2 separate regions of the Homo sapiens genome follow, and region 2 is linked to region 1. Evidence: promoter capture Hi-C in 16 types of primary human blood cells and fetal thymus (Javierre and others, 2016). All regions are on one chromosome and are shown on one strand. The core of a region is centred on a gene start or on the middle of the fragment in contact, and the rest is flanking DNA. Distances in the headings are between cores, read along the strand shown. Region 1 holds the start of PLA2G12B (phospholipase A2 group XIIB). Region 2 overlaps MICU1 (mitochondrial calcium uptake 1).

Region 1 (5,841 bases), core at 254-2,753:
TTACCTCCTAGTCACTCTTAGTGTATAAGGAAGCGATTTTCCCCACTCAAAAAGGAATAGAGAGACTTAAGGGTGAGTCCGGGAAGTATGTAGTTTTTTTGTGCATCTCTTCAAAGCTGACTTTTTCTCTGTTGAGTATTTGGAGAAAATATTTCTCAAATGTGTTTTCCTGTTAGGCTAAATTGACTCACCATTTTCATTTCTAATCCCTTGATGAGATAGTTGATAAATTAAACCATAAAACTAATGCTACCTGAGACCTGAGACTGTGCATGCTTTGGAAAACGTTTTCATGCGCATTGGCAATTACACGATGCCACCCAGCTTCAAGGCCTGGGGCTCCACATTTTGCTCCCCTTACATTAACTTCCAGGGCCCCTGGGACCAGGGGCTCTGTGCCGGCAGCCAGGTGTGCACCTTATATCTGTGTACCCCCAGCCATATTCAGGCAAGGTAGGGGAAGTGCTCCTGCCAGCTCACAAATCTGCATCTGGCGCCAAGTCCAGGGGACAGCCCCGGGATCCCTGGTGAGCCACGAACCCTTCCTCTCCACAGCATGCCTGTCGTTGCCGAGGCTGCAGGCAGGGACAGCTCCCTTGAGAAAGTCCAGCAAATTGATGCCAGTCAGGGACTGAGAGCTGGGAGGACGGTGTGAACTGCAGCAGGGGGAAGGGAGAATTTGTTTCCAAGCTGAGCACAGAGCAGCTGAGGAGGTGGTTTTGCCCCATGGCAGATTTTTCTCTGAATGTTCGGCTTCAGTTTTCATCCCTGGGAACTCCTCACAGAGGCCTCTCATACCCACCCTCCTTCTTCCCACCCCAGGTACCCTTTTTTCCTAAGAACTGCCTCACAACAAACTCATTAAAATGGCCCAGGGAAGGTTTCCCAGATACAATACAGGAAGCTCAGTGAAATGTGAGTTTGAGATAAACAACGAAGAATTTGTCAGGATAAGTATGTCCCAGATATTTCACTGGACATACTTATACTAATGACTTATTTGTTGTTTATTTGGATTTCACATTTCACTGGGTGTCCTACATTTTTATCTGCTAAATCTGGCAGCTCTAAGTGGATAACAGGAAAAAGTGCAAGACAGATCGTGACCTCTCTGGGGCTGTCCATGGGTCCACCAGCAACAGTTTTTACAGAAAGAGAAACCGCACACTCACCATATCGGCACCTGTACTGACAGACTCCATTCTTCCCTCCCAGCAGCTCCAGAAAAGAATCGAAGTAGCTATTGACGGATTCAAAGCTTCCCCGGAGGTGCCGAAGGCCCCAGTCTGAATAGGACTCCTCCGTGTCAGGGCTCGTGTCGCTCTGAGCCAGGCCACCCCCAAGGCTGAGCCACAAAACCAAGAAGCCACTGGCCAGCTTCATCCTGCAGCCAGGTAGGTACTGGCTTCTCTCCTCAAACCCCAGCCAGTGTCCCAGAATTCCAGGGACAAACCCCCTACCCAGATGTCAGGCAGGACTGGGAAAGGGATTATCTGGAACATTCAATCTGTCTGTTCCCCAGAGGTGGACTTTAAACATAGCTATGGAGGTTGGGATGAGATCAGGGCAATTAGAAAGAGGGCAAAGGTTAGGGAGTGGGAGGGCCAGGGAGAGAGAACATTTCAAAGTGGATTCTACCACCCTGGAGGGAGGGAGATGTTAGCCAGCTTCTGAGACGCAGGAACGGTGAAGGATTCGGAGTTCTACCCCGACCAGCTTGTTAAGCTGTTGATCAGTTACAAGTGTGGCTCTTCAGGGCCAGCCTCTTGATAGAAGAGCTTGACCGAAGGTCCTAGCCACACCCCTCAGCCAGCTACCTACATAGTCTCCAAGGAGAGTCAGGAGGATGTGTACAGGGCCCAGGAAAGCCCCAGCGGTAGGAATTAATAGTCACTTTACCAAGGGTCACGATAGTGTCAGAGTAGGTACCAAGTGTGTGTTAAGCAGAAGTTCAGATTTGAGACCCCAGCTTCTGCTGTGGAACCCACCTGGCTCTGACGCATAAATCCTCTAATTTGGCAGAGCTCCCAGATGTAGCCATCTGAGTGCAGGGACATTTTGGCTTCTATTTACAGCAGTATCTCTGTTTACACTCAGCATAAGTGGATCATAAGACAAGATCTACAGATGGTCCAAGGACAATTCTGGGGGCACTCGGCTCTCCTGGTGGTGTTTTTCCTTTGAGTTTCTTAGAAGTCAGAGGGTTTATCAAATAGTCTATTTGGGAGTGTAGGCTTTTAAGACTGTTGACTGAAGTCTAGTGTTTTGGCATCGTTTTCAGTTTAGACTGCTTTTAGTCGTGTGAAGAAATGCCATCTATAAAATCACTAGTCTAGGACCGGGCATGGTGGTGCATGCCTGTAATCCCAGCATTTTGGGAGGCCGAGGCGTTTGGATCACCTGAGGTCAGGAGTTTGAGGCCAGCCTGACCAACATAGCGAAACCCCGTCTCCACTAAAAATACAAAAATTAGCCAGGCAAGGTAGCAGCCGCCTGTAATCCCAGCTACTAGGAAGGCTAAGGCAGGAGAATCACTTGAACCCAGGAGGCGGAGGTTGCAGTGAGCCGAGAGCACGCCATTGCACTCCAGCATGGGCGACAAGAGCGAAACTCTGTCTCAAAAAAATAGTAATAATAAAATAATCACCAGTCTATAAAAATGATACCTTTATGGACCACATGAATCATTTAGCTCCTTTCTCAAATGTTTGTCTGGAAAGCCCCATGGAAAATAATGAATTAAATGAATTAATTTCTTCATTTTCAGTAAATGTGTTTGGCTGAAGACTCAGACTCCAGGAAGGGCAGTGGTTAAAAATTATTCATAGTCACAACAATGCCACCCAATATTTTAAAGCATCTATACTTTTTCAAACCACTTTCATGCATATGCACATACACAGAGGCACACACATACACATGCACATATGCACAAATGTTCATGCCAGTTTCATGAAGCAGATTAAATAGTCCCATTTGGGGGTGAGAAAACTGATGCAGAGGGTAAGTGACTTGATCAAAGCTGGACAGGCTATCAATGGGAAAGCTGGCACCAGGGCCAGCTACATAATTTGTAGGGCTTCACCAAAACAAAACTGCAAATGCAGAGCTCCTTTTCCAAAAGCAGGGGAACTTGCCATTAAAATACTAACTATAGGCTGGGCGCGGTGGCTCACACCTGTAATCCCAGGACTTTGGGGGGCCGAGGCAGGTGGATTGCCTGAGGTCAGGGGTTCAAGACCAGTCTGGCCAATATGGTGAAACCCCGTCTCTACTAAAAATACAAAAAGATTAGCCCGGCGTGGTGGCGTGCACCTATAATCCCAGCTACTCAGGAGGCTGAGGCAGGAGAATTGCTTGAACCAGGGAAGTGGAGGTTGCAGTGAGCCAAGATCGTGCCACTGCACTCCAGCCTGGGTGACAGAGTGAGACTCTGCCTCAAAAAAAAAAAGCTAACTATAAAGCTTTTTCCTTTAAAAAATGTTTTATTATTTGTAAAATATAATAAGGTTAATAGAGATACATGAGTATCAATATATACATAAATTTTTTAAAAATTGGTGTCATAATTTTATATAATACTATATATTACTTTATAAGTATGCAATATTTTGATCATAGGATTTTTCTGACTTTTCTGAAAATTCATTGATTAGGTCATCAAAGTTTATACTTCTAACAACCTAATTTTCAATCAGTGTAACTGAAAGTGATGTCAGTTGCTCTTGGCAATTGTAAGATGGCAAGAAATATTTGATACTTTTTTGTTTTGAGAAGGATCTTTTTGCTGATGCAACTGTTACTAGAGCTGTTAATAGTATTGTCCCCCCATTTCTTGAAACTTTATACATGTTTAAATTGTGGTAAAATATACATAACATATTTACCATTTTAACCATTTTTAAGTGTGCAATGCAGTGGCATTAAGAACATTCATACATTGTTGTGCAACCATCACCACTATCCATCTCCAGAACTTTTTCATCATCCCAAACCGAGACTCTGTTCCCATTAAGTGATAAGTCCCCATTCCCCTTTTCCCCAGCCCCTGGCAGCCACTATTCTACTTTCTGTTCTTAGGAATTTGCCTATTCTAGGTACCCCATATAAATGGAATAATATAATATGTGTCCTTTTGTGTCCAGCTGATTTCACTTAGTATAATTTTAAGTTCATCCATGTGGTATGTATCAATACTTCACTGAGAATACTGCTGCTATGAATACTGGTGTACACATACCCATTCAAGTCCCTGCTTTCGATTCTTTTGGGTATTATATACCTAGAAGTGGGTTTGCTGGATGGTAATTCTATGTTTAACTTTTGAAGAACCATTATACTGCTTTCCATAGTGGCTGTACCATTTTACATTCCTGCCAGCAATGGACAAGATTTCTAATTTCTCCACATCCTTGTCAACACTTGTTGTTTTCCTTTTTTTTTTTTGACAATAGTCATCCTAATGAATGTGAGGTAGTATCTCATGCATCTCCCTCATAATTAGTGATGTTGAGCATCTTTTCATGTGCTTATTGGCTATTTGTATATTTTCTTTGGAGAAACATCTATTTAAGAAGACCTTTGTCCATTTTTCAATTGGGTTTTTTGTTATTGTTGAGTGTCAGAAGTTCTTTATATACTCTGGATATTAATCTCTTATCAGGGCCGGGCATGGTGGCTCATGCCTGTAATCCCAGCACTTTGGGAGGCTGAGGTGGGTGGATTGCTTGAGCTCAGGAGTTCAAGACCAGCCTAGGCAACATGGCAAAACCCCACCACTACAAAAAAATACAAAAATCAGCCAGATGGAGTGGTGTGTGCCTGTAGTCCCAGCTACTCAGGGGGCTAAGCGGGGAGGATGGTTTGAGCCTAGGAGGTTGAGGCTGCAGTGAGCTGAGAATGTGCCACTGCACTCCAGCCTGGGCAAAAGAGCAAGACCCTGTCTCAAGTAATAATAATAATAATAATCTCTTATCAGATATATAATTTGCATACATTTTCTCCCATTCTCTTGGTTGCCTTTTCACTCTTTGGTAGTGTCCTTTGCACAAAAGTTTTAAATTTTGATGAAGTCCAATTTATCTATTTTTTTGTTCTTTGTTGACTGTGATTTTGTGTCATAGCCAAGAAAGTGTTGGCAAATCCAAGGTCATGAAGATCTTGACCCTATATTTTCTTTAAGAATCTTAGAGTTTTAGCTCTTATGTCTTTGATCCATTTTTAAAAATGACATAACACGGTCGGGAGCTGTGGCTCACCCCTGTAACCCCAGCACTTTGGGAGGCCAAAGCGGGGGTGGATCGCTCAAGTCCAAGAGTTCAAGACCAGCCTGGGAAACATAGGGATGTTGTCTCTACAAAAAAATACAAAAAATCAGCTGGGCATGATGGCATTTGCCTATAGTCCCAGCTACTCTGGAGGCTGAAGTGGGAGGATTGCTTTAGCCCAGGAGGTGGAGGTTGTGGTAAGCCAAGATTGTGCTACTGCACTCCAGCCTGGGTGACAGAGCAAGACCCTGTCTTAAAATAATAGTAATAATAGTTTTATTTATGTTGCTAGGATTGAGATCCAAGTATATTTCTTTGGAATTATAGGGTTTTTTTGTTTGTTTGTTTTTTGTTTTTTGTTTTTGAGACAGAGTCTCACTCTGTCACCCAGGCTGGAGTGCAGGCTGGAGTGCAGTGGCACAATCTTGGCTCACTGCAATCTCCACCTCCTGAGTGCAAGCAATTCTCCTGCCTCAGCCTCCCAAGTAGCTGGGATTATGGGTGCCCACCACCATGCCCAGCTAATTTTTGTATTTTTAGTAGAGACAGGGTCTTACCATGTTGGCCAGGCTGG
Region 2 (5,197 bases), core at 1,291-3,790, 570 kb before region 1:
CCCAGTATTTCCACCCTCTGGTCCACATATCCTGTGTAATCCCCTCTCCTCAGGTGGGCAGAACCTGTGACTACGATAATCCTGTGATGAGGTTACTGTATATGAGAAAGGTGATGGGCTAGTCAGTCCCATAACTATGTTATGTAAGAATCCATCTTAGCAGACTGAGGCGAGAGATTCTGTTGCTGGCTCTGAAGAAGTGAGTTGCCATGCTGTGAGGGGCCTGGTGGCAAGGAGCTGTAGTCACCTGCTGAGAGCAATGACTGGCCAACAGCCAGCAAGGAAAAGGAATCCTTGGTCCTACAACTGAAAGGACCTGAATTCTGCCAACAGCAGGAAAGAACTTTGAAGAGGACCCTGAACTCCGGATGAAAATGAAGGCCCCCCAACAACACTGCGATTTCATCCTTGTTAAGATCCTAAGCAGAGAACCCAGCTATGCTGTGCCAACACTCTGAATCACAGAAACTGGCCAGTGGGGAAGGCATTTATGATTGGGAATGTCTTTTTTTTTTGGAGGGGGACGGAGTCTCGCTCTGTCGCCCAGGCTGGAGTACAGTGGCGTGATCTTGGCTCACTACAACCTCTGCCTCCCGGGTTCAAACAATTATCCCACCTTAGCCTTCTGAGTAGCTGGGATTACAGGTGCCCACCACCACACCAGGCTAATTTTTGTATTTTTAGTAGAGACGGGGTTTCCCCATGTTGGCCAGGCTCGTCTTGAACTCCTGACCTCAGGTGATCTGCCTGCTTTAGCCTCCTAAAGTGCTGGGATTACAGGCGTGAGCCACTGTGCCCGGACAAGGGACTATCTTTTTGAAGTTCCTCAACTTCTACGTTATATAGAGCCGCACTCATCCCTCATCCCCCGCCACCTATTTTTTTTTTTTTTTTTTTTGATACAGTGTCTCATTCTGTCACCCCGGCTGGAGTGCAGTAGCATGATCATAGCTCACTGTACCCTCAACCTCCTGGGCTCAAGAGATCCTCCTGCCTCCGCCTCCTAAGTAGTTGGGACTAGAGGTGTGTGCCACCATGCCTGGCTAATTTTAAAGTATTTTTTGTAGAGACAGAGTCCCACTGTGTTGCCTAGGTTGGTCTGGAACTCCTCAGCCTCCCAAAGTGCTGGGATTACAAGGTTGTGCCACTGTCCCTGGCCTGCACTCATTTTTTGACAGAGTGCACTTTACAGAACCATCATTCTGTTTTACCTACTATACCAAACTCCATAAATTAGATCTTACAGGGAAACTAGCCAAGGTCTAATTAAGTTTTACATTTCCTAACAAGGAAATAAATTAAAACTGCCACACTTCTTTTGGGAATTCAAGTCTTGCTCTTACTTCAAATGTACCTGACAATTATAAGTCAGTTCACTTTCATAAAGATTTCACATAAACAAGTTGGGCTAACAGTCCCTGTGAGGCAATAGATTTGGAAATAATTTTAGGCTATGACATGTCACTTAAAACATTACTTCATTCAGTAAAAAGCGGATTTAGTTATAATCATACAATTTCAAATCTGCATGAACCCTTAGAGATACTTATAACTCCAACCTGAGGGTCAGAGTAGTGACCTGCTCAAGGAGTCAAAGGAAATTAATGACATGGGAAGGTGCTACAGTCCTAACACTCTTCCCCTCACCCTACGCTCTTACTAGAGTATTTCATCATCCTTTGCAGGATCTGGAAAGGTCTAGAATTAATTCATTTACATAACATAAACGAACATCTGTTTATATAAAGAGTTGTTCTAGGCTCTGAATAGCACACAAAGTTGTAGAAAACATGGTTCAAGTCTTTGAGAATTTACAGTCTAATGAATTCCCCCTTGAATGCTGAAGATATGAGACATATCAATAGGGGTTAGATATTCCTAGGAACAGAGAACTTTTTTAATAAAGGCTTCTGAAGGCAGAGACACCAATAATTTTTGGATGAATGATGAAACTTAGGAGAACCTAGAAGCTTCAATCCTCATTAATGAGTATAAACAACTTAGAACTTCTAAGCTAATAAAAATGTCAAAAGTGACTAAAAAAAAGCAGTAGATTCCACTTCCTCAGAGAACAAAGAGCCTTATCTGGTGCTTTTTTTTTTTTAAGGATGATTTAAAAAAAAAAACACTTTTTATGATGTTGCCATGTTGGTATAGGTTGTTTCCAGCCCCCTAATAAGATAAACAGGCAGAAGAAAGCCAGCACCTATGGGTTGAAAACCAGAACAGGCAGTTTGGTACAATTTTAATGTCAACCTAGTATATTAATATAGTATTATCTCTTTTTATTTTCACAATAACCCTGAAACAAGTATTCTACTATCACCATTCTACAGATCTGGAAACTGAGGCTTTGAGAACTTAAGGAATTTGTTCAAGGTCACAAAACTAGTGAATAGCGGGGACTCAAACTCAGGTTTGAACTTAAAACCAAAATTTATATTCAGCACAATTTCTTGCATATAGTTAACGCTCAATAAATGCTAGATGTTAGAACAGTATCTAAAAGTGCAACAGAGCACTGGTATACCAATGAGCGGAGGTGGTGAGGAACACCTTGGTCATTGGAAGGTGTATCTATATCCTGTATTTTGATGTTGAGAAAAGCGCAGCTTAGCATACATGCCTTTTTCTGGTCTGTGGTATCCCTTAAAAGGATATCAACTTTCTTGCTACATGACTTTATTTAAATAACTTCAGGCTTTTGTGTATTGGTTTCCTCAGTGAAAAGTAATATGGTTCCAAAGGTAAAGATCACAGATGTGTCTACTAAGGCGTTCCTATGCAGGACAAGAAGCTAGATTAGACAACTCCAAGAGTCTGTTATTGTAAGGTAAGGACTATGGATGTCTGTGTCTGAGCTGTAGAACCTATACCTGAACAGAACAGACAATTGTAGGGGAAAAAAAGGTCACATTTCATATTCAAGAGAAGGGCACTATCTCTAAAACATCATAGTTTATCAAAAGGACTTCATTCTCACCCTAAGAATGGTCAACTCTTAGCCAAAAGCAACTGGGAAAAAAAAGTCCAGAGTCTGTCTTCCCAATGCTACTGTGAAGCATGGTTTGAAATGGTAAAGCCACAGTCCCCTCTGGATTGTGCTTCAGCAAAGCTTTTCAGACTCTAACAGAATTGTGGAGTATACTGAGAGGCAACACGACGATGTGGAAAGAACACAGACTGGGAATTAGAGAGACCTGAGCTTGAATCCTGGCTTTTCCACCACTAAGCTGGATAACCACGATCAAGTGGCTTCATTTGATATTTTCCTCATCCATAAAGTGAAGATGAATGAGGATAATTCAGGTTTTAAAGATTAAAAGCGATAACATGCATAAAGCACTAAGCATTGTGCCTGGCACAGAGAAACTACTATGAAATGAGAGTTGCTGTTAGTGTTCCAGATGTGTGATGGCCTCACAGTCCTGGACAGGACAGTGCTACCGGATTATTACAGTTCAGGAGTGGGTGGCAGCTTGTCTGTTAAAGACAGTTGTTCAGAATATAAGAGTTTGTTGTGTGCTAGAAATTGCTGACTCCATCAGTAATTTCTGACTTCCCCAACAATCCAGTTAGAGCCTAAATGACAAAAGACTTGAGGCTCCCTTACTCATTCCAATTATTAGACTCAAAGAATTTGAAAGCTGCAAAGGTTCTCAGAGGTCATCTCTGCCATCCTTGTCCCTCCAGAGACAAAAGAAACTGAGACCATTTGAAGATGTGACTAAAACTTCAGAAAAAATACTTGGGGTTGCAGAAAGCTCCTGTAGGAGTTATGCCATAGATTTTATTATTTGTTCTTTTGGCTTGTCAGATAATAAGGTAAACTGCACGTATAGAATAACTACAAAGAATCAAGGCCAACTATGCCATAAATTATAATTTTCAGTGTAAGTAGAATTGTGCAGGGGCGTGAATAGTAAAGACCAGGGACTATATTTGTGTGATTATTTTCTGATTTTATAGTTCAAAGTACACCGAGGACGTAACTGAACCCACAGGTTTACTGCATCTGTACTATCCTGAGGTGCTTTACAGTGGAGCTTTATTGTACCTGGATATTCTCCTGGCAGAAATTGGAATATTCTGAGTTATATGGGCTGAAGCTCACTCTAGAGCTCCAGCTCAAATAATTTCTAACTTTTTCATCATAGAAAGCCATTGGGAAAGGAGTCATGTTCAATTTTCCATTACCTTCTTCAGCAGACCACTTAAATCAATCAGCCAGCCGCTGAGAGGTCATAGATCTAATTTTATGCCCAGTGTGCGTACGAATGAGCAATAGAACCAGTTCTTCTTAAGTGCTAAACGAAGAGACGCCTGATAGTGGAGACACACAGTATTTCATGGAGAAAGGTTCTTTCTTCAGATGGTTAGAACTCTTGAAAACACTTCATTATTACCTGATGGTTGTTACTCTCACATGGGTCATGCAGAACTAAAGAAATAGCCTTAATTAAATTTGATGTTTTTTTCAAATGGTAGGAGGGGCAAACAGAAAAAATGAAAAAAAGAAAAAGAAAAAAAAGAAATGTGACATTTTTTACTCTGGAGGAACTGGACTATGTTCTAATACAGTAAATCTGCAGTGGCCACCTGCCTGGATCTTTCAAATTATTCCAAGGAACATTAACTCTGTAAGTTATTAAAAGATGGTCTGGAGTAAATCAAATTTGGAAACTATATCCCTCTTCCAGAGATTAATAATGCACCTTCATATATTAAAAAGTTGGCAGCAGGAGTGCTGCAAGAAGAAATTCTATATAACTCTGGCATTTTCCAAACTTATTTGAACCATGGAATACTTTTTTTTTTCTTTTTAAATCCACAGAACCATCATCATATTGCAGTATACAGTGTTCTTCACAATGCTGTTTGGAAAATTCTGTGCTAAATTATGCCTAAAGACTGGTTTGTAACCTCTAAAATAGCCAAGGAAGAGACAGTGCCAGGGCCTAGAAGGTGCCAATTTCTGAAGGTTCTAACCTTTTGGGAAAAAATGAAGACAGCTGAGACTCACAGCAGAAGCCAGATAAAAAGTATTCCTGTCTCTACTCTGGCCTCACTCTTTCCCAACCACTGGTATAAATTAGGGCCTCCACTTTTAAGCTCCTAGAACCTCTTATTCTAATTAGCACTTATCACACCCAACTGGAACTGCTTCTACACTTATCTTTCTCCCCCATTAGACTCT

The links. The method cuts DNA at HindIII sites, captures the fragments that hold promoters and counts their contacts. A CHiCAGO score of 5 or more calls a contact.
Region 2: a contact is called between a fragment that was not itself captured here and the fragment with the promoter of PLA2G12B in region 1, in 1 of 17 cell types (endothelial precursors). The highest score is 5.8, in endothelial precursors.

Annotation. Positions count from the first base shown.
Region 1 is chr10:72,953,303-72,959,143 of GRCh38, forward strand. PLA2G12B (phospholipase A2 group XIIB) reads right to left here and starts at 1,504. Exons shown (of 4, transcript NM_032562.5): 1 at 1,173-1,504. The coding sequence starts at 1,383. The HindIII fragment of the contact is 2,206 bases long and covers 1,257-3,462 here.
Region 2 is chr10:72,385,680-72,390,876 of GRCh38, forward strand. All of the region lies in intron 10 of MICU1 (mitochondrial calcium uptake 1), which reads right to left. Among named protein-coding and RNA genes, the nearest start is that of DNAJB12, 33 kb to the left of the region's middle. The HindIII fragment of the contact is 1,145 bases long and covers 1,969-3,113 here.